Regions from separate parts of the Homo sapiens genome. Here region 1 is linked to region 2. Evidence: promoter capture Hi-C in human tissues and cell types (Jung and others, 2019). All regions are on one chromosome and are shown on one strand. The core of a region is centred on a gene start or on the middle of the fragment in contact, and the rest is flanking DNA. Distances in the headings are between cores, read along the strand shown.

What was found. The method cuts DNA at HindIII sites, captures the fragments that hold promoters and counts their contacts. A contact is called where the count stands out against the background at its distance.
Region 1: a fragment that was not itself captured here is called in contact with the fragment with the promoter of IGF1R in region 2 in 1 of the 25 tissues and cell types used here (hippocampus).

What each region holds. Positions count from the first base shown.
Region 1 is chr15:97,965,155-97,972,538 of GRCh38, forward strand. It overlaps ARRDC4 (arrestin domain containing 4), which reads left to right. Exons shown (of 8, transcript NM_183376.3): 2 at 446-512; 3 at 741-888; 4 at 2,860-2,962; 5 at 3,969-4,225; 6 at 4,729-4,891; 7 at 5,435-5,589; 8 at 5,977-7,384. The coding sequence ends at 6,033. Among named protein-coding and RNA genes, the nearest start is that of ARRDC4, 8.1 kb to the left of the region's middle. RefSeq lists an enhancer at 5,258-6,457. The HindIII fragment of the contact is 4,565 bases long and covers 3,068-7,384 here.
Region 2 is chr15:98,643,449-98,651,317 of GRCh38, forward strand. IGF1R (insulin like growth factor 1 receptor) reads left to right here and starts at 5,091. Exons shown (of 21, transcript NM_000875.5): 1 at 5,091-6,227. The coding sequence starts at 6,134. It overlaps IRAIN (IGF1R antisense imprinted non-protein coding RNA), which reads right to left and starts at 7,339. Exons shown (of 1, transcript NR_126453.2): 1 at 2,415-7,339. RefSeq lists an enhancer at 3,193-3,814 and silencers at 3,826-3,875, 3,886-4,355, 4,416-4,475, 4,846-5,115. The HindIII fragment of the contact is 5,713 bases long and covers 3,025-7,869 here.

The DNA.
Region 1 (7,384 bases), core at 4,100-6,599, 680 kb before region 2:
GTGCAGTAGCTCACCCCTATAAGCTTAGTGCTTTGGGAGTCCAAGGTGGGAGAATCGTTTGAGGCCAGGAGTTCGAGACCAGCTTGGGCAATATAGCAAGACCCTCGTCTCTGGAAAGAATTATTAAAAATTAGTCAAGAACCATGGCACATGCATATAGTCCCAGCTCCTTGGGAGTCTGAGGCAGGAAGATTGCTTGAGCCCAGGAGTTCAAGGCCGTAGCACTCTGGCCTGGGCAATAGAGCGAGACCCTGTCTCTAAAACACATAGACACACGCACACACACCCCCCTTCAAACTTAATTCTCTACATTTGTTTAATGAACTTTTGGAGTATGCTGCATTTTGTAGCGAGAAAAACTTCCTTCAAAAAATTATTTACATTGTGAAAACTCTTGATCTAATACTAACTATCCTTCATTAAAATAAAATACAATCTCTTATAGGTGAAGGCATCATTTTATTACAGCCTGGAAAACATGAATTTCCATTTCGCTTTCAACTTCCATCTGAGTAAGTGAAACACTACAATTTTGTGGTTATCCTTCTCTGCAGTATGTCCATTCAAGTTTATCACTGCTAGGTCTCTTCTGATTCTCAAGTATGCATGTTTACACTGAATAGTCCCTAAATAGACTTACTCTTTTTTTATTTCCAACCTAAAACATTTTAAACCATGCTTTTTTTGGCTTTGTTTAACTGAAAAGTAAACTCATAATTAATGTCTTTGGTTGGTTTCAGACCTTTGGTCACCTCGTTTACTGGGAAATATGGAAGCATTCAGTACTGTGTGCGGGCAGTGTTGGAACGACCCAAGGTACCTGATCAGAGTGTAAAGCGGGAACTCCAGGTTGTTAGTCATGTCGATGTCAACACACCAGCATTATTAGTAAGTTCTTCCTTTTTCTCTTCCTCCTCCTTTTCCTCCTTCCCTCCCTTCCTCCTTCCTTTCAACAGTGGGATCTATATTTAGCCAGTTTACTGGTAGTCTGTCCTGTCACTTTCTGATGGCTTGGAAAACACAATCTTGTAACCCAAAGGCATTCACTATAAATATATGATTCTAGGTTGGACAAATTACAAATTGTGTGTGTTAATACTATTGATTATGTCCCTGCTGTTCAGGGCTTCTTTTGCCAAAAAGTTACACAGGCTTGAAATGCATTAATAAGGCTTAATAACAATAATGCACACACAGAGAGTAGTTACTTTTACCAGAGTGGCCACATTTACAGGACTGGGGTATTCTAAACTCCTCAATAATAGCAGGTTGAGGAACAGTAATTATGGAAGAGTATTAATCATGCTCAGCCTGTTATTGAAGCTCAGGCCATTATGCTATGTATCCTTCCATTTTGCATGTCATTTTCTAACATTAAGTAAGTGCATGCAGCTGCCGCCGAGATCCTTTCACTTATCATTTCCTTATGACAGATTTGGCCACATTAAAGCATTGAACTTCTAATAATCACCAGAAATACTGTAGACTGATAAGAAAGATCAGGCTATAAGTAACAACAGAATAGGCAAGATGGGAGCTAATGAGCTAGATTCTTTTATCTAAACCCATATTATCAAAATAATATAAAATTATACCTTGTACTTTCATGATAGCTACTAGGACCTAATGGTTCTTCATTTAAATATGAATGAATGATTTTTTTTACTTCATAGAAAATACTGAGATAATTTAAACTTTCCATCACGATACTGATGTGACAAAGATGTATTTTTCATGTTGGAGGTTTTTCTAGCCTGTGTTTTTAAAGACAAGGAAAAAGCTAGCAGTTAGAAGTTGTTGTTTAAGTCTTATTTTCGCATGAGAAAGAAATAGAATTTAATGTTCACCTTTAGATTATGAAAAGATAGCAGATATGCTGTGGTTCCATGGCCTCTTGTGGTCAGAATCATAAAACAGCCGGCACCCAGCTGGCCTGGCTTATAGCTGGGACTTTAACAGCCGCTTGAAAACCATTTTTGAAAAATTGGTGATGCCAAGTAGCTTGTATTTTTAAAAACTACTTAGAATTGGGAGGCTGAATATTTTTAAAGTTTTTATGACCATTGTGGGAATTGATTTAAAGGGATTTGTCTTTGCCAAAAACAGACACTGTTGATCCCTTACGATTCTTTATATAAATAAAAAAAAAATATTGCAAGTAACTGGGTTTTACAGAAAGCTTTGGTGTGTGTAACTCGTAAACTGAACATTGTAAATCTTGTAGTAACTTCTCTTGCCACTATAGAATAGAATACTGCAGTGAGAGGGTATGTTTAATAAGCTTTTCAGATCGGTTAACACTACACATGTTATTGCACTATTACACAAAACCCCAAAACCACTCCAAATTAAGAACACATGAAATTTCTGCTTGATAATGCATTTTGAAGTAAGTGGTGGGAAAAGGCTGTTTGTTTATTCCACTTTATTAAATGCCAAAATAAATATAATGTTCTGATTATTTTTTATTTTTATATCATTTATCCTTCCACCTGACTTTTATATATAAAGTCTTAAAAATAATTCTGTCATGTTTATAAGTCCTAATACAGCTTTTGATTTTTTTTTAAAAAAATGGTATATTATTTCCTGGAAACATAATGACTTCAGGGTAAAATAAGATGGTGTCATGCTAATTTTTGAATCTGAAAATTCACTGTAGTTTTCCTAAAAGGGGAGTCTTAACACCCTGTGTTTTTGTGCATATTTGGCCTAATATGTTACATGAGGATAAGAAAGTTTGATTCATTTTTTTGGTATTTCCTTACAACCATTCTGTGAAGATAGATATAATTTTAAGTTCTATGAGTTCTCTAGAGTGGCTTAATTAAGGTTGTTTTATTGTTTGAAATTTTCAAGACCCCTGTATTGAAAACTCAAGAGAAAATGGTTGGCTGTTGGTTTTTCACTTCTGGTCCAGTCTCGCTGAGTGCCAAAATTGAAAGAAAGGGATACTGTAATGGTAAGCAAAATGCTTGAAAGTCCAAATGAAAGATTTCATTCATTTTCTTAGCTAATTTTAAGTGATTTTAAATAGTGTTTTTTGTAATTATATGACGTGTATAGTATTTTAAAACATGAATAGTGATACATTTTTTATATAAATAATTGATATTTAAGTATTTTTAAAAGGAGGAATTGTTTCCAGTCAAACTCCTGTTTTTTTTCTGACTTCAATCCTGTTACTTTAGTAACAAAGAGTATAACTAGAGGAATGAGAAAATGCCAGCATCTGATTTTAATGTTGCAAAAGAATCTCCAGGGTTGTATTGCTAAAAAGAGAACTACTGGAGTATGAAATGCTATTAGACATTCTGATTCCATGCTGGCTTGATATATGCAAATGCATGGGACTGGAATGTAGTGTATTAACAAACTTAACAATCAGATTGTTACTGGAATTGCCATTAGTGAAGGGCCCATTTCCAGCAGTGGATTTGGCCCCTGCTCCAGGATTCTGACTTGTTAGAAAGGAATTCAGTATGGAATGGTATGATGTGCAGCCATAATGTTATAAAACTTGCCTAATCCATCCGTTGATTCTTTCTGTGCCTTAACATTATTAATTCCTTAAAAGCAAAGGCTTTGTTCTCCTGTTAGGCAGATTTTAATTTGATAAGCACTAATGAGTTTGTTAGTGATCTTTTATACTTAACATAGTCCTGAATCATTTATTTGTATGTCTTATCCTAATTTATATAGACACTGGTCATTTACATATCTTTAGAATTGCTAATGCAATATTGCTACTTTAGAAAAGTCAATAATGCAATAATTAGAAAATAAGATCTACCACAACCTGCAGTGAATTTTTATTTCTCTGGCTTGAATTTACAATATGTTTTCCATCAAAGCTTCTCAATTTGTTAAAGTGATGTTGGAACATTTCAGCTATACGGCCCTAATCCATTGTGGTGAGAACTTTTTCAAGAGTCTCTGAATCCTCCCTGGTTTTGTTTTCTTTTTAGGAGAAGCTATTCCAATCTATGCAGAAATAGAAAATTGTTCCTCTCGTCTGATTGTTCCAAAGGCTGCTATTTTCCAAACGCAGACATATTTGGCTAGTGGAAAAACAAAGACCATTCGACACATGGTCGCCAATGTGCGAGGAAACCACATCGCTTCTGGGAGCACAGACACATGGAATGGGAAAACGCTAAAAATCCCACCTGTTACTCCATCCATCCTGGATTGCTGCATTATCAGAGTGGACTATTCCTTAGCTGTAAGCAAAGCTCTTTTTTAAAAAAAAATGTGTATGATGGACAATAACTGATGTCATGTTACTGTGGGTATGTAGAGTTGCCTATAAAAATGTCATTTTATTTCAGCATTAACACCAATTGGGGACTGTATGAAGATTGGCCCTTGTTTTTAATAAAACCTATTCCCCACAGGGGATTTAATAGAATGCCATAAAAGAATTGAGGTGCATTAAGGGGTGTTTGTTATATTGAAGACATAGCCTTAATTTTCTATAATTATTATATAAGCCATGCAAACCTACAATGATGCATGTTAAGGACACAGTTCTCTGTCACAGAGCATTCACTATGTTTTGTGTACTCTTCATTTTGTTTAATCAAGACAATTGAGAATTGTGATGGGGGTGGTGGCAGCCGACAAAAGCATTTGTTTCTATGAAAAAAAGAAATTAATTGGGCTACCTACTGGAGGTGTAGCTTACATTTGTTCCTTTCTCTTTTTTTTTTTTTTTTGGCTTATTAGGTATACATTCACATTCCTGGTGCTAAAAAATTGATGCTCGAACTGCCATTAGTGATCGGTACAATTCCATATAATGGTTTTGGCAGCAGAAACTCCAGCATTGCCAGCCAGTTCAGTATGGATATGAGCTGGTTGACACTGACCCTGCCAGAGCAGCCTGAAGGTAAAATATGTTGGCGTTCTTTCATAACGAAGCTTTACCTAGAAAATACCTAGGAACAGAATATATACACTATTAAGTGCTCAGATGTTGATGAGTACTGCTACTATAGGTATCTTTATTCCTACTACTAAAAAATCAGAAAGCATTAGTCCTGGGAGGGACTTTGAAAGTTTAGCTTTATCTAGGACGCAAAGCTGCTGATAGCAGATTCAGGAATAAGATGTACATTTCCTAATTCCTATTTGTAATAGGAAAACAATGAAAAACAGTCAAATGTATGGTGTGTTATGTCTTTTCTATAGTCATATTTCAGTGATATTTGTTTACCTATATCTCAAGAGACTAGAATAGAAGCTATTAGTAGTAGTTTAATAAAAGGAGAATCTATTTTTTATTGTAATATGCATAAAACCTTGCTGATTAGAGGGAAAGAATGCCATATTTTTTATCTTCAAGTTTAGCTGTTTCTTGTTTTTGTAGCAGTTAAGAATCGAGATTAATTTTTGAGTGGATTTCTTAACTCCAACTTCATTTCTATTTCAGCACCACCAAATTATGCAGATGTGGTATCAGAGGAAGAATTCTCTAGACACATTCCTCCTTACCCTCAACCCCCTAACTGTGAGGGAGAAGTGTGCTGTCCTGTGTTTGCCTGTATACAAGAATTCCGGTTTCAACCCCCACCTCTTTATTCAGAGGTAAGCAAAGCAAAAGAAAATTAGACTTTTACTGTATTATTTTCAAATAATCATTTTTTGTCATCCGTTCATTAGAGTGTCTGTTGCTGACTCATAATTAGTAAGGGATACATTTAAATTTGTTTATACAGTGGTAATAGATTATCGCTGATTCATTTGCCAGATTTTTTTACTATTGTCCTTGTGATCTATGGCATCAGATACAGTATTGTGGATTGCCTTTAAGGTGTGTTATTTGGCCATGGAATATAGAGAACTTAAGCACCTTCTGGGACTTACACAGGCTCTGACCAGCTTGGCATATAACCATCATATAATTACAAATAGGTACTAGAATCGTTTTAAATAATGCTACAACACTAATCTCAGTCCGCTCTTTTTTTGCAGGTTGACCCACATCCTAGCGACGTAGAAGAGAGCCAGCCTGTTTCCTTCATTCTCTGAACGTATTTCAGAAATCACTGTGTTCATCATCAAATTAGAATGTTGGTTCTTTTCCTTCTGCCTTTTTGGGAAAGAGACAGGAAAGATTCACTTGAAAACATAAATGAACGTCAAGACTGAAGGCAATAGAAATTAAAGAATGTGAGAAAGTTCTGGTGGGCCGGCAGGATTGCCGCACAAGTTTATATGATGGTCGTATATATATCCCTGTTAAAAACTGGGATGAAGATGTGCAAAGTCACAGAATGTAATGGAAGTCCTGATGGTTACAGAGTAAGTGAAAGGGTGCCTGCGCTGACGTGAGAGAAAGGAATCTGTAAACAGTGGAAACACTGTGGGAGTTTCCCATGGTGAAGAGTGGAACGAAGGCGATATGAACTGAAGGGGTGAAGACTTGATTTTGGAGAGGGCAACAAAACAAGGGTGTGTGTGCATAGGAGAATGGCCCACTCCAAATACGAAGTGAGATCCTGAGTCTTTGGGTGCTTCATGATTTCCTACCATATTCAGGCCTAAAGACATTGAAAAAGCATCTTTTCTTGAGATCATGGTCATATGAGGTCCTAATGAAGTACTACAGTTTTCATTCTTTCAAGGGTAGACTAAAATATAGTTTATAAATCGGCAGTACGGTATTATGAAACCAAGAAAGGGTTTCTTGAAAAGCTTGTCGGTTCAAAGAGGAAAGATGAATTTCAATGTGAAAACACGTTTTGTTGAGGGCTGTACTTTTTACCCCCTTTAAGTGCTTTAACAGGATATACGTTTGATTTTCCTCATATCTTATTTACCTAGGAGCATGTAAGAGAAAGAAGGGAGAGAAAAGGTTGCATCTGCAGGATGCCTTGATAACTACACAGTCCCAAATAAAAGGCCTTTTTCTAACCTACCTCTAATGGGGTTATCAGATATGTTTTTAAATCTCTCGCCCTGAGTACTCTTCTTGGGAGTTGCTGCTGTTTACAGCCACAGTCTCATCTATCACTAAATATGAAACTGGGCCAAGGGGAAAATTCAGTAAGTTAGCGTTAAATGGAAGTAAATATATGTATACCTAAGAGAATGTCAAAATAAACACCAAACCAAAAGAAGGTAGGAGTGCCATTTTTAGAAAAGACACAACTTTAATTCCTGTCAAGAGACCTAGGTCTACTGATGGCAGTCACTGCATTGTACATTATTCCAGTTCTTCAGTAATTCTGTTTAAACTGTGATTTTCTTTATTGTGTTGGTGCAATATTTTATTATCATTTAACCTCAGGATATTCAGACCAACAGGATTGTGTTGCTGCTGAAAGTCTGAGCAGTGTTTTACCGTCCCCAGCCCCCCTCCCACATGGTCACATGTTCA
Region 2 (7,869 bases), core at 3,841-6,340:
CGAAGAAGCATCTTTTGTACTGTCTGCCAGACAGGGATCCTTACTATTGATATGTTTGAAAGTTAATTACATGGAGGAGTGAAGACGGCACACCCATCTCAGAGACTAACCACCGCAAATGACAAGTGAAAAAGACAGAGCCGTTACAGCTATCCTGGTCGGGTTTATTTTCCCAGACTACCATGTGGGGAGTTGAACATACCCACCCTCAGGTCGGGGACAGGCTCGTGACGATGCTCAGGGTAGTGGTGGAGCCCCAGAAGCCTCCAGTTTCCATTTTGGACCCACGGAGATCTCCAGGGTGCCTATCACTCTTGGCCCAGGCCTGGGCTTTCCAGGAACTTCCCCGATTGATGTTTTACTGAACGTGGTGCCGAAAGTTAGTCACAGGAAGACATTATCTCAGCTGTCTCTGCGCAAATGCTCTCTGAAACCTCCACGTTGCTTTTAAAGCATCATGGAGAAATGTAGCATTTATGCCTTGGGAGCCAGCTATCTATGCAGAGCTAAAATAGAAAATCTTCTCAAGTTGAGTATAAACAGATCCTCAACAAGACTGAGACTCTTGTTGCTTGTGGCTGTGTGGGGATAGGAATCAGCTACAGCATCACTTGTATTTTTCCTGCCCTTGGGGTGCTCTGTGGAGACCATGTGATGCCTTCCACAGCTAATGCCCCTAAGGAAAGACCTTAGGCAGATACACACTGAAAGTATACACATCTGTAGACAGCTGTGGGCAAGGATGTTGGAGTTTAGCATCTCTACTAACTCACCTAATAGTAAAAACGGGAAGCATTGTGCTAACATTTTTTTTAGAACAGCTGCAACTATCTAAATTATAATACAATCTTAACAATTTAACATTCAGATACAATTATGCAGAATGAAGTGCACCCATCTTAAGTGTACAGTCTGATGTGTTTCTGCTAAATGCATATACTAGCATAGCCAACACCCCATCAAGATATAGAGCATTGCCATCACCCAAGAAAGTTCTTTATGCCTCTCCCTAGTCATTTGAAACTTTCCCTCTCTACCCACCCAGGGCAGCCATGATTCTGATTTCTAGCTCTAGATCAATCTTGCCTGTTTTTGAGCTTTACATAAATGAGCTAATACAGTATGTACTCTTTTGGCTTATACATTATGCTTTGGAGACTCATTTATGTTTTTGCATGGATTAGTAGTCCATTCCTTTTTACTGCTAAGCAGTATTGCATTGAATGGATATATCATGATTTGTTTATCCATTCTCCTTTTGATTTACATTTGGGTTGTTTTAGTTTTTGCTATTATGAACAAAGCACCTATTGACATTCCCATAGAAGTATTTTTGTGGAATTTTCATTTCTTTTGGGTAAATAACTAGGGCTAGACTTGCTGGATCGTAAGTTAGTTGTATGTTTTACCTTATAAGAAACTGTCAAACAGTTGACATAATGCACTCTTAATGAAGCTTATTACCTGTGAAGTGAGGTCTTTTAAATTTTTTGTCTTTTGATTTTTGTCTTAAATTGCATCGATATTAGATGTGTGGACATTCTTCTGAAATATCTTAAGGATCAGACCTTGATTAACTGTGTTATTTTAGTAGATCTTTAATGCTTCTGAGTTATTTATACGGACAGCTCGAAATCTGAACGACTCCCATTGGAAAACCAGAATGATCTCTTTCATGGATCTCTCCCATATTTTTATTTATCTTCTTTAATGTTTTATACATACAAAAATATGTAGAACATGTGTTAGTTATTAAGCATACTTATAAAATGGAAATTTGTAAATCCGTCACTCAATCCAAGAGTGAACTCATTTCCAAATTACAATGGAAACCCATGTGCCTATGGGCTTCTCATCCTCTCCAAAGGAATTCACATCCTTCATTAATTCTTTTGCTAAAACAAAAGCAAAACAAAGGAAAAATATTATTTTATTATTTAAAGCAAAAAAAATTTTCTGTAACTTTTAAAGTTTTCCTTGCTTTTTAAGAGCTTTATCAAAATGGTGTTACGCTGTGTGCGTTTTTGATATTTGTATATTTTTACTCAGTGTGTTTCAAAGATCTGCCCATGTTGTGTGGGGCTGTAGTTTATTCACTTTTGCTGCTAACATTCCTTTCTGCGAATACATCACAATATACTGTATTACTTGATACTTGTCAATTGTTGTGCTGTTTCTCACGTTTGCACTTGATGTATATGATATACATTACATTTTTTGGGGAGTCTGGTACATTTAGCAGAATAATTTGAGATGAAACTGTTATCAAGTAAACGGCGTTTTTAAAAAATGAAAACAAGCAATCAGTTTCTGCTCCAAAAGAGGGAGAACCTATAAGATACCTGAGTAAAATGGTATAAAATAAAAAGTTTGGTGCATTGTCAATGTGGGTATAAAGCAAAGACTCCAATTAATTTTTGTCTACATGATTTTATTTCAAGGTTGAAAAAATAAGTTTGACTTGTGTATGTAAAATATAATCATTGAAGAAATACAAATCACCTCCTTTGTCCATGTGGTCAAGTTAGAGCGTAAAGACAACCTAAATTTTTGTTCCTTTTTTTTCCCTAAATATTAAGCTATATAATGATACATCTCCCACTTCACTGTTTAAAATAACTTAATACGATTGATTTCCTACTACTTCAGGAAAACACAAACATTTAAAAAATTCACAAATAAAAATCATTTTAGTAAAAAAAAAACACACAAAAACAAATCCTACAACCCCTACAACAACCTATATACATTTAAAAATTCTATAGACCTCTTTATGTTCTTGGGGACAAATAAACAGGCATATTTATTACTAATACTAAAAATACATTGGGTAGTATTTGAAGATTTTATATTAGCACTAGCCTTTTAAAAATCAGCTCTAAATTTTTGTCTTACAAGTATGTATTAAAAATTCTGAAATCAAGTATAATGAAATTATATATCAATATTCCTTTGCATTTAACTCCAGAGTGGATCTGCAGGAATCAAGACCAACCTCATGCAGAGAACTTAAGAAATATTTAAAAATTAGTAGACTGGACTTTAATTCTTCATGTGTAGTGCCTAATTTTTAAATAATACATTTTAAGATTCTAATAAATTTATTTCACTGTTAAATCTAGGAACATCCAAAACTGAAACTCTTTATTTAAAAATCAAGCTGAATTTCAGTTAAACAAAACCATCCCATCATATGAATAACTTTCTTAGGTAAAACAAGGTTTATTTTCTTTCTATACAACTGACTCTGAATTGAGCTAGAAATTTCCAAGGAGGAAAATGATCTAGGAAACAACTTTAGAAAAAAAGGGCTAAGTTTCCGTTATGATAGCTTTTGACTTGTTTTCAGCTCTTAAAAAATTATTTACGAACGATGGATACACGTTCTAATGCAGAAGTATTTTAGAATTAGAGAGTAAAAGAAACCTACTACCTTCCTTTACATCAGGTCCCTTCTACCATCCTACCCGATTGTTTGAGACAACCACTTCTTATCTCGACAATTCACAACTCTTTTATTAGCTATCTTAAAAAAATTTATTACTGGCATCAATTAGCCTGAGTCATGAAACCGGACCACATTAAGGGCGACACATGGTCCAATCACTGTTTGTAAAAGTCCACGTATTTCAAACTCCTCTCTCCTGCCACTGCTGGGCTGTTTCCCTCTTTGAGGACCTGGTCTCCGCAGCATTTATTCATTAGATGGCAGTCCTAGGGGAGTCTCGCTTTGGGGAAACCTCTCCTCCTGCACATTCAAGAAAACAACCGCGGAGACTTAGGGTCGGTACTGGTTTCCAGTCACTTACGTAGCAAACGAAGCAAGAGGAACGTGCCTGGGAGGACCCGAGACAGGTGCGGGTGGGTTTCCGCAGTAGCCGCTGATCCCGAGTGCATGCGGCGTGTTCCCGGGTCGGGACCGCGGCCAAGGGAGGCTTCCCGGCCCCAGCCTCCACCCCCTCCTCGGCGCCCCGGGACCCGGACACGCCCCCCGAGCTTCGGAGACCCGCAGCGTGCACGCGCCCCGGCCGCTCCCCGCAGCCGCCCACGTGGTGGAGCCCTGAGCTGCGCGAGGCCGCGGAGAGCGCTCAGGGCGGGCGGCTGGTCCGGGAGGCCACGCCAGCGCGACCCAGCCGAGTCGGCCCCCAGCCCGGGCCCCCACATTTCCTCCCCCGGAGGGAGGGAGGCGACTCTCCGCGGGCTGCCCTCCCCAGCGCCCGCCGCGCCCTCTGGCGGCCGCCGCGGGGACGCGCCCGGGGCACGCGGCGCTGCCTGTCTGGGCCCCCCTTCCGGGGCGCGGGGCCCGCGAGGGGCGGCGGGGTCCTCTCTCCTCGAGCCACTCTGGGCCGAGCCACACGGGCCGCGCCCTTCCCCCTCCGCTCCCCCTGAGCCCCCAAACTCCGGGCTCCACGGTCGCAACGCCGCGGGCACCCCAGCCTGGCGTGAAAGTGCCCGGCGTAGTAGCCTGGGGGGGGGGTCCCCTTTCTCCCAGGTGCGCCCCTTCCGCCACGTTCGGGCTTTCCAGTACGCAGCGAAAAAAATGCCGCATGCACGCATTTATTTATTTTGCAACAGCTGCAAGAAACAATGAAGCTTTTCAAGAACCGGGGAAACGCGCTTTCCAGCCGCGCTGTTGTTGTTTTCAATGAACCTCTCCCAGCCCCGCACTCCCCGCCCACCCCTCCCCTCTCCTGCCCACCCCTCCCCTGCCTAGCCTTTCCCTGGCTACCCACCCCTGCCCCGCCGAGACCGGACCGGCGGCGGGGGCATTGTTTTTGGAGTCGGGCGGGAGGGGAGGGCGCGTGCGGGGTGGCCGGCGCAGTGCGGTGGGGGCGGGAGCGGGTGGGCACGCGCGCGTGTCTCTGTGTGCGCGCGGGAGGCGGTGGGGCGGGAGATGGGGGCGGCGCCTCGCAGTCTCGCGCCCCACGCCCGGGCTCCGCTCCGCACGTCTTGGGGAACCGGGCTCCGGTTTTTTGCGCGCGCCGGCCTGGGCCGGGCCCTCGGCGCGCCGCTGCTGCGGCGGTGGCCGCTCGAGTGTGCGAGCGGGCGCGTGTGCGCGGGCCAGGGCGCGCGCGCGCGCGCGAGCCCCCAGTGTGTGGCAGCGGCGGCGGCGGCGCGGCGAGGCTGGGGCTCTTGTTTACCAGCATTAACTCCGCTGAGCGGAAAAAAAAAGGGAAAAAACCCGAGGAGGAGCGAGCGCACCAGGCGAACTCGAGAGAGGCGGGAGAGCGAGAGGGACGCCGCCAGCGAGCCTGCCCACGGCCGGCGCTCGCAGACCCTCGGCCCCGCTCCCCGGATCCCCCCGCGCCCTCCACGCCCCTCCCGCGCGGGGGCAGCTCCACGGCGCGCCTCGCCTCGGCTGTGACCTTCAGCGAGCCGGAGCCCCCGCGCAGAGCAGGCGGCGGCGGGCGGGGGCCGGGCGGGGGCCGGCGCGGGGCGGGCGGCGGCGCAGAGCCGGGCGGCGCGGCGGGAGTGCTGAGCGCGGCGCGGCCGGCCCGCCGCTTTGTGTGTGTCCTGGATTTGGGAAGGAGCTCGCCGCGGCGGCGGCGGCGCTGAGGGAGGAGGCGGCGGCGAGCGGAGCCAGGAGGAGGAGGAGGAGGGGGAGCCGCTCATTCATTTTGACTCCGCGTTTCTGCCCCTCGCCGGCCTCGCCTGTGACCCGGACTTCGGGGCGATCTTGCGAACTGCGTCGCGCCCTCCCGCGGCGGAAGCTCGGGCGTCCGGCCGCCTCCCGCGCGGCCAGGGCCGGGCTTGTTTTTCCTCGCCTAGGCAGATTTGGGCTTTGCCCCCTTTCTTTGCAGTTTTCCCCCCTTCCTGCCTCTCCGGGTTTGAAAATGGAGGCCGACGACGCCGACAGCCCGCCCCGGCGCGCCTCGGGTTCCCGACTCCGCCGAGCCCTGGGCCGCTGCTGCCGGCGCTGAGGGGCCGCCCCGCGCCGCCCGCCCCGTCCGCGCACCCGGAGGGCCCCGGCGGCGCCGCCTTCGGAGTATTGTTTCCTTCGCCCTTGTTTTTGGAGGGGGAGCGAAGACTGAGTTTGAGACTTGTTTCCTTTCATTTCCTTTTTTTCTTTTCTTTTCTTTTTTTTTTTTTTTTTTTTTTTTGAGAAAGGGGAATTTCATCCCAAATAAAAGGAATGAAGTCTGGCTCCGGAGGAGGGTCCCCGACCTCGCTGTGGGGGCTCCTGTTTCTCTCCGCCGCGCTCTCGCTCTGGCCGACGAGTGGAGAAAGTGAGTATGTGCCCGCCGCCCGCGGCCACTGCGGGAACTTTTCCTCCGAGGGGCTGCGCCCTGTTTGCGAAACCCGAGTTGCCACCGTCGCAGCTGTCGGGCCCCCGGGCTCGGGAGCGGCGGGGTGGGGCGCAGGGCGGCTCTGCCGGGAGGGAGGCTGCAGCGGACCCGGGACCCGGGCTCGTTCGTCTGGAGCCCCGCGGGCCCTGGCTCCGCGCATCCCCGCGCGGGAAGGGCTTTTCTCTTTCTCCGTCCTGACAGCCCAGCCGTGTTTCCCGGCTAGGCGCGAGGACTCGGTAGGGAAGTTGGTGCCGGGGCGGGCTCCGCGGTTCCCGGGCCCCGCGACCCGCACCTCGCCCCTTCCATGCGCAAGAGCCTCTCCGCACACAGCGCTGATCCCCTGCGGCGCGCAGGCAGCAGCGACAGCACCCTGGGCCGCACCGCGTCTCCGCTGCTGGGGCTGACCGGGCAGTGGGGAGCGGGCAGCCGCCCGGCCCGCGGGGTGCGAGTTGCCCTCGAGGGGGGAGGTGCCCTGCGGAGAGGCCCCGAAGCCCCAGGACACGTCTCCAAGCGCCCGTCGCTGCCTCCCGTCGCCCAACGTGCTTTTGCCCCTCGGGCTCCTCGGGTTCCTGGCCTTGCCCGTCACTTTGGCCCGCTCCTCGTTGGGTTACCTGCCCCCGGCGTCCCGGGGCTGGGCGGTGGGGTGAGGGGAAGCGCTCTCTGGGCAGCCCCCCGGGAAGTGCGAGGCCGGGAGTCTTCCTCAGCTTGTCTCTTCCGGGGAGCGCCACTGGGTCCCCAGTTCAGAGGGCTCTGGGATGGTCTCCCAGTTTCTCCCGGGCCGGGGGATGGAGGGGTACTAGGGCCGCATCCGAGTGTGCGTTGGTGGGTGTGTGGTCGGAGCCGACGTGCATTCCGACACACGTGCTCGCAGCGCGGGGTGTAGTCGCCGCCTCACGGGGACACCTAGACGCCCGTCCCTGGCGAGAGGTGTCGTACGCTGTGGTTTCAGCGCCAGGGTCTGCGGCGGCGCGGGGAGGGTGTTGTGTTTTGCGAGCGCGGAGCCCTGGCCTTGGTTTTGTTGTGGTCGGCGTCGTGTCGCCCTCTCTTCTGCCGCCCCGCACTTCCTTTGTACGTAGTTAATAAGCAGTGTCGCTCCACATTCGCTGTCTTTTGCAATCTGATAGCTTTTGTTTTGGTGGTGTCGGGTGGGGGTTAGTAGGGAAGCGCGGGGATGCGGGGAGCGAGAACTCCCCCCGGTGTCTACGGCCGGAGGAGGTGGGGGTTTTATTCTTCTGAAAAAGTTGAAAGTGTGGCTTACTGGTACATTCAAGATGGTAGGGTAATTTGAACACGATTAAAAGTTTAAATGTCGCAGAACTGGGACTGGGAACGGTGAGGGCGTGTTGGTGAGTAATGGTTGCCGAGGGTATGCAGGTGGTGCCGATTAACTTTGAAAAAATCACGACTGAGCCTTCACGAGTGAGGCGGGGAAGGAGGAGGCAGCGGAGGTTGTATGGCCCCATCACCGGGGCAATTCAGAAAGGCTGTTTCTATAAACAAATCCTTAAACGTCTGGTAAGAAATGAGTCCGCGACGGAACGAGAGCAGATCGTGGTTCGCGTGTTTACTGCCGAGTGGGACG